Linked DNA regions of Homo sapiens: region 2 is linked to region 1. Evidence: promoter capture Hi-C in human tissues and cell types (Jung and others, 2019). All regions are on one chromosome and are shown on one strand. Each heading gives the region's core, a stretch centred on a gene start or on the middle of the fragment in contact. The rest is flanking DNA. Distances are from core to core; before and after follow the strand shown.

Evidence for each region. The method cuts DNA at HindIII sites, captures the fragments that hold promoters and counts their contacts. A contact is called where the count stands out against the background at its distance.
Region 2: a fragment that was not itself captured here is called in contact with the fragment with the promoter of PTHLH in region 1 in 1 of the 25 tissues and cell types used here (IMR-90 fibroblasts).

The regions. Positions count from the first base shown.
Region 1 is chr12:27,970,622-27,974,321 of GRCh38, reverse strand. It overlaps PTHLH (parathyroid hormone like hormone), which reads left to right and starts at 1,589. Exons shown (of 6, transcript NM_198965.2): 1 at 1,589-1,799; 2 at 2,303-2,395. The HindIII fragment of the contact is 6,422 bases long and covers 1-3,466 here.
Region 2 is chr12:28,310,536-28,314,091 of GRCh38, reverse strand. All of the region lies in intron 6 of CCDC91 (coiled-coil domain containing 91), which reads right to left. Among named protein-coding and RNA genes, the nearest start is that of CCDC91, 120 kb to the right of the region's middle. RefSeq lists an enhancer at 781-950. The HindIII fragment of the contact is 7,107 bases long and covers 1-3,556 here.

The sequences.
Region 1 (3,700 bases), core at 340-2,839:
GGTTGTCGCCTGAGCCAGGTGGGGCTTGGAACTCTCTCTGTGGCCTCGTACAAGTCCAGAGCTGCCTACTTTCAGGAGCCAAAAACTTGGCCAGCCAAGGGCAGGCATCTGGCTGGCTGGCACCAGTCCAGGAGATCAGGACTGGGACACTGCACATTCATATTCTCTCTCTCTCTCTCTCTCTCTCTCTCTCACACACACACACACACACACACACACACACACACAGAGACATATCTGAAGAAGACTCTTCAGATATGTTTCAATTGTCAGGAGTTTGCGAGGTGCTCAAGTGCTTGACCTTTAAGAACCGGTTCTCAGAGACCCCCATTTCCTAAAGACCTTCTCATCTCACATTGGTTTGGGTTCCTCCCAGGAAACCGCCTCCTCTCTGGGCCTCCTGCTTCAGTTTGGGGGAAGCAGAACATTGCCCAGGAAGTAGGGAAGGGTGAGGAAGGGTGTGAGGCCCACTTTTCCCATGGGAGGATCCCATCAGCTTGATGCATATCTATACACTCCTCCCTGAGGCAGTTCCTCCAGAGGTTAGCAGCCCGCCCTGTTCCTGGAGAAGTCTTATCCTCACCTAACTACAAAAAGATTTAATAAAGAAACACACCCTTTCCTATTGTTACTTGGGGTTTGAAGGCATTACATCTTTTTTTCTTTTTTGCTACCTTGAGGTCAGCTGGCAACAGCCTCCTCTCAAGTCTCAGTCCAGGCGAGCGATGAGAGCCACATTCTAATGGAATCCAATGAGAGCATTACTTGAGCTGATTATGCAACGTCTCTTTGTAAACATTGAAAAAAGTTTGGAGAAGAGATGGGATGAGTTTAGTTGTTTGGTTCCAGGGGATTTTAGAGACATAGCTTGCAGCTACAGATTGGTAAATGTGAAATCTGGATGCTTATTGGTAATAAGAGAATTCCCAAGCCCAGGTGCACTGTTTAAAGTGCTATAGATTCATATTTGGTTTATAATGTATATCTGTTTGCTGTTTGGGTTAAGGAGGAAAGAAGAAAGAAGGATGAAGAGGCTAAGCATAAATGCTATTTACTTTTTTCTAAGCTATGACAGGAGATATACATTAACTGGGTATTCAACTGAATTTAAGAGTAATGCATTTAAAATTTTTTCAACCTCTTTTAAAATTTGATATACTGTAATAAACTGCCACTGGGGATGGGAAGATGGAAGCCTGGTGCTCATGGGCTAGGCATTTGTGTAGGTGTAGATCTTATAATGCTAAACATGGAAATACTTCAGATTAGAGGCAGGCCTTCCCATTTGCTAAGGTGCATTTACATGACAGCAAGGCCTAAGCAAACATTTAGCTTCTATTGGCACTTGTTCTATTTCTAAACCTTAGAAAAAAGGTGTGTGTGTGGGCTGGGGGGACGGGGGGGGGAGGGAGGTGGTAGGGGGTGCTCTTGCTGTGTCTCATTTGCAGTCATGCATCCTCTGCATTATTATGATGGAGATTACTCAGTTATGTTAGGAACTAGATTATGATGTCAGAAAATATCCTTTCCAAAACAGGCAAAAAGTCAGGGTCCTGGGTATATATTGAGGAGAATTTCTACGGAAAGTAATAAACAGGGCAGCTTGGAAGAGGTACCTGCTTTCTAATAATTGCCTTTAGTGGGAACAGAAGTCTCCTTTCAAGAAGCTTTTAATTCATTTTAAGATTTAATTTTATGTTTTCTGAAGAACAACAAAAAATATTTCTGGAAAAGACTGCTGAGAAGATTTCCCTCTTTCAGCCAGAAGAGCAGAGAGAAGATTGTAAATCAAGGAAAAGGTGAAGTAATAAATTAGGAGGGAACTTTGGTATTCCGAGTATATAAAGACTATTTATTTTTCCTGTGTCTATATTTTCTCTTTTTGTGGAGGAGAGGAAATTCTAAAAATATTTGATAGATGTTTTGCCATTAACACCAGAAAAGTGTGTGGGGAAAAAGAAAGGAGGGAAGGAGTGGGGGGTTAATTTTGTTTAATTAGTAGAAAAAGCAACATAAATCAAAGCAGTCTATTGATGCCAGTCCTTAATTTATAATGTTCTGAAAGTAAAGTGAATTTATTTACAACATAAGTGATTTGATAATTTCAATCTGATTTTTGTTTTAACCTTCTATTGGGAGAAGGGTTGACTTTTTAAAGCCTGGATAGTTTGAAACTTGGCTAGGTACCTTGGACTTTTTATTGTGGAAGCAAATATTATCATTTCAATGTTAAACAACTTGCAAGTATTAAATGGCTCATTTGTGATTGACTTTTTTTTTTTTTTTTTTTTTTTTTTTACAGATTTCCCCCTTCAGATCTAACGATTACATTAGGGCTCCTGCATCTTTTTGGAAGGATTCTTTTTATAAATCAGAAAGTGTTCGAGGTTCAAAGGTTGACATTTCTGAGTGCTGATACTTTGTCCTTTCATACTATCCAAACAAGTCTAACATTTAGAAATCCTTACACATTCAAGGGAAGTTGTGGAAATTCCCAGAGAGAGAGTGTGTGTGTGTGCGTGTGTGTGTTTTGGTTTTGTTTTGCTTTTTTTCTTTGTTAGTGAGAAGAAGCCGAGTCTTTTAAGGTACGGGGTTTACAGTAATGAACTGAGGAAGGCAGGAGCTTCTAAGAAAATATGCCCCCCCACCCAACCTAAGCAGTAAACTTTAACTGCTAGCTAGCTGCAGTGAACCAGTGGGAGCCCCGATGAGCGAGGGTCTCGGTGACAGCGTGCTATTTCTCCCACCCTGGGTAAAATATGTGGAGCATCACCCGGAAAGTCGGGCTTGATAAAGGCCACATTCCTTGAATCATCTCAAGAATCTAAATCACACTAGCCTTCTAGAAACTAATGAACCCTACCAGCAGGATTGCCTAGAAGACAAATATCCCTTGAATGGTTCCCAGTCCACTCGCGCTCTTTTCAAAAAGTTAGAGGAGCCCTGGGGAGGGTATCCACTCCCGCTGCAATCCTTTCCTAGATGATACTACCCAGTAATTCCGAGCAGTCTTTCTTCCCCGCCCATTAGCTTTGGAAAGAACCTCGGCTTTCCCGTCGCTTCTCCCAGGCAGAGCAGCACATAACCATAGTTCCACTGCATCTGTCCGCTGGCTGCAGCGACTCGGATACAGTCTTCCAAGAATCTGTAACCTGGGACTTTTGAGGGGGAGGGGACAAGCAGGTAGGGTATCAGAGAAAGGATGGGTTAGACTCCCGACCATGAGTGAAAAGGGCCGTGTGCGTGCTCCAGGAGTGTCGGTCCCCCTCTGCAATTCAAAAGGGGGATCTCTCCTGTGCGCGGGTTTTTTGGGACCGGCTCCAGATGTCTCCCAGCAGTTCTGAAACAGCAAAAAGTGCAATTTAGATATGAAATCTGGAACTGTTTTTGTTCTTCTAAGCAAAAGATCTCCCTCTCTCTAGCCGATGCTCCCCACTCAGTTCATCCCGGGAATGGGCCAGGGAGGAAGGTTCTCATGCATCGCCCCGAGCTGCCAGGCGAGCTTCGGGCTCCTTAAATTCACAGGCCAACAGCCCGCGTCCTCTCCGCGCAGGCTCCCGGTTGCCCGCGGTCCCCGGCCCAGCTCCTTGGCCTCCTCCTCGTCGGTCCGCCCCTGGTGGTCTTGGCGCCCGCTCGTCCAGCTCGGCGCGCCGGGGACCGCCGGCTGCCCGGGGCAGTCCGCACGCCCTCGGGGATCTCG
Region 2 (3,556 bases), core at 990-3,489, 340 kb before region 1:
AAGTTTACACAAAAAATTCCCAAAGTTAGCCATAGATACCAATACTGACGACTATCAAAGATAATAATTTTATAACCAGCTGTGTCTGGTAACTGAATTTTTAGAAATGTGGCAGCATGAGGACATGTGCTATCTGATGAGCTGCCAAGTTTCCTGAGTGCTTGTCACAGGTGTTGACCCACTTGTTACAGGAGTCAAAGAAAGGAGACAAAAGGGACTGGAATCCAAGTTGTACTAAAATGAGGAGTTCTCTATTCAAGTTTTGTGAAAGTCCTTTAAATAGCTATTTCTGATAAATGCAGCATGACTCACTTTTCTTCCTCTGGTTAGGCTACACACCCTGGACAGAACAGGAAAAGGGGACATAGCACACACCCCCATTGTACTATAGAGTTCACAGTATTTATTTCCTTTTGTTATGGCACATTCACGCCTCTCCACCTATCCTGGTAATTAGACCATATCACATAAAATAACACTGTTAGAATTATCTGTAATCATTAATGTTGTTTTTTAAAAGTTTGTTTAAAGGTTTTACAAACATTCCATTTATTAATTACTCTTTCTCTTGTCAGACAAAAATTCTGACAGATACATCCAAAACCTGGCCTAAGTAGAGGAGTAGATTTTCCAAAACTGAAAACTCAGAGCCCAGTATTCTGAAATCAGGTGAAAATATTTAGAATTTTCATGGTGAGAAATAGCTATAAATTTTGTTTTCCTTTTTCTATATTGTCCACATTTTCCAGACTACACATACTATTTTTATAAATACATACACATACTAACATTTCTTAAGGAGAAAGAACTTCTCAGCTAATTTAATCTAGCAATATCTTACTGGACTCCTAAATGTTTTGCTTTATTTAGGATACCACAGAGATGCAGGCACCAGTATATTGTTCCTGTCATCATAAATAACTCTTTTCATTTCATTAAGCTTCACAGACATTTAAAAGACCTGTATGTTAGATACCTTGATATTAAAAAATTGCCATATTCTACAGAAAATATGTCATAAATAAGATTCAATTATCTAAAGGATGACTGGCAGACCATAAATCCAAACAAGAAATTTAATATATATTCACTGTTTGTATTAGTCCGTTTTCACACTGCTGATAAAGACATACCCGAGACTAGGCAACTTATAAAAGAAAGAGGTTTAATGGATTCACAGTTCCACTTGGCTGAGGAGGCCTGACAATCATGACGGAAAGTGAAAGGCACGTCTCACATGGCAGCAGACAAGAGAAGAGAACTTGCACAGGGAAACTTCCCTTTATAAAACCATCAGATCTCGTGAGACATTTACTATCACAAGAATAGCACAAGAAAGACACATCCCCATGATTCAATTATCTGCCACCAGGTCCCTCCCACAACATGTGGGAATTATGAAAACTACAATTCAAGATAAGATTTGAGTGGGGACACAGCCAAACCATATCACTATTTAAAAACTTACTTTGCTAATATTTCATCCTATACATATTTAACATACAGTAGCCTCCTTTGACACTCACAAATTTAATCACATCTCTTATTCCTAAGAAATTATTAGGTAGAAACGACTTTGTGTTAGTTTGAAAGAAGTCCATAACCCTCAGAAAGAACTGGATTGCAGAAAGGTCAAATACGGAAGCCTAAGATTTCTAAATTCTTCCTGAATCAGGTATTTACAGTACAATGTAAATATTTTTGTTGAAAATACACTTTCAGAATATCTAACACATACACATAAATATGCACAAACTTAGTAAATATAAAGCAGATATAGAGATTTATGTATTATCTCCCATTTCGAATTATCCATATATTTTTATGCATCCTTCCTCTATCTAGAATGACTCCATGGGAGCTCATTAACCTGTTTCCCCACCTCCAAAAAAAACCGACTCAAAGTTACCTGTTTCAAATTAATGTATTTTAACTTTGATATCAATTTCCTGATGTAGCTACAACAAAGAATAACTAAAATTTAAAAGGTTGCTTTCTATCCCACTTCCAGATTAAAATTAAAAAGACACACTTCTCCCTATTTCTATCAATAAATAGAGCTAAAAAGTTTGGACATTTTATTAAAACAAATTTAAGAGGATTCTGGAATGCAGAGGGAAGGCAGACTAACTAGGGACCTGGGAATCCAAGGAATGACAAAGCAGTGAGTTCTGTGAGTTTTCTTTTAGCCTCATATATCCCAAACTGGGGAGTGGAATAGCCAGCAACCAGGAAACACCAACAGGCACAAAAGCCCCAATAAAAGTCAATCCTCTGTAACAAAAGGGCCATCCATGAAAGGCACAATCTAGCAAGACAGAAAACTTTTAGACAATAAACATCCTACACCAACCAAATACCATGGAAAAAAAATTTAAAAAAAAACACGCATGGCCCTAACTTTGAAACTTTTAATCAACAGTAAACAATGACTCAAACAAAATACTTTCTTCTAAATAGTCATAGTGTAGGCCTATTGAACAATGTCCCTATAGGACACTGAAAAGACACACTGCTCACCTTTTTCCTTATTTCCAAGTTTCGCCTTTATTTTTAAACCACCTCTGTCACAAAAGGCCGAGTACTGAGCCTAGATTTCCACTCTCGCCCCAGCAACAATGCAGTGCCCATAGATGACCTCGATGTGGTATCAGAGAAAACCAAGTGGTTGTGAAGACAGTTTTAGGACTTCTATCCCCATCCAAAAGGAAAAAGACTCTCTCTCCCTCCTTTCCTGTGTCAGAGGAAGCTGAGTGGGAAGCCAGAACTTTTATAACTATCCAGAGGTAAGAAGATCTCACCTAATCTCACAGTAAGGCACCCGTGGAACAGTAATAAGGTGCCTCTCCTGCTCCCAGCCAGGGATGTATCTGCTAAGGCCTGTGGGAGCCCTGAAATCCCACCTTATCTCAGGAGTAAGGCAGTATCCCTCCTACCCAGGGTGTCAAAGGGGGCTGAGTGGAAAACTTGTCATTTTACTTGCACCTGACATTAACAAAATGGTTAATCTTTTCCCAAACTATACAGTATCAGATGAGGCCTGCTAAAATACAAGATTTAAATAAGATCCAAGGTATCATACAAAATACCCAAAATATGCAGGATAAAATTAAAATGCACTCATCATACTAAGAATCAGAAAAATCTCAACTTGGGTAAGAAAATACTATCAATAGTAACACTGAGATGACATTTTTCTAACAAGGATTTTAAAGCAACCATAATAAAAATGCTTCGGCAGGGAATTATGAAACATGCTTGAAACAAACAGAATAGAAAGTTTAAGCACAGAATGGAAGATATGAAGGAGAACCAAATGGAAATTTTAGAACTGAAATATACAATAACCAAATAAAAAACAAAGAATTGGCACATCAAATGAATGGAAGGGACTGAGGATAGAAATGCTTTCCTCAGAGATGGTATGGTGACATACAAACTGAACAGTATGCCTACTTTAACTTCGATTTGGCTATGAGACCTCCTGGTACATTTTTCTATAATTTATTTAGCCAAGGTGTTTAACACTCCGTAAGTTACTCTTTTATTCCCATGC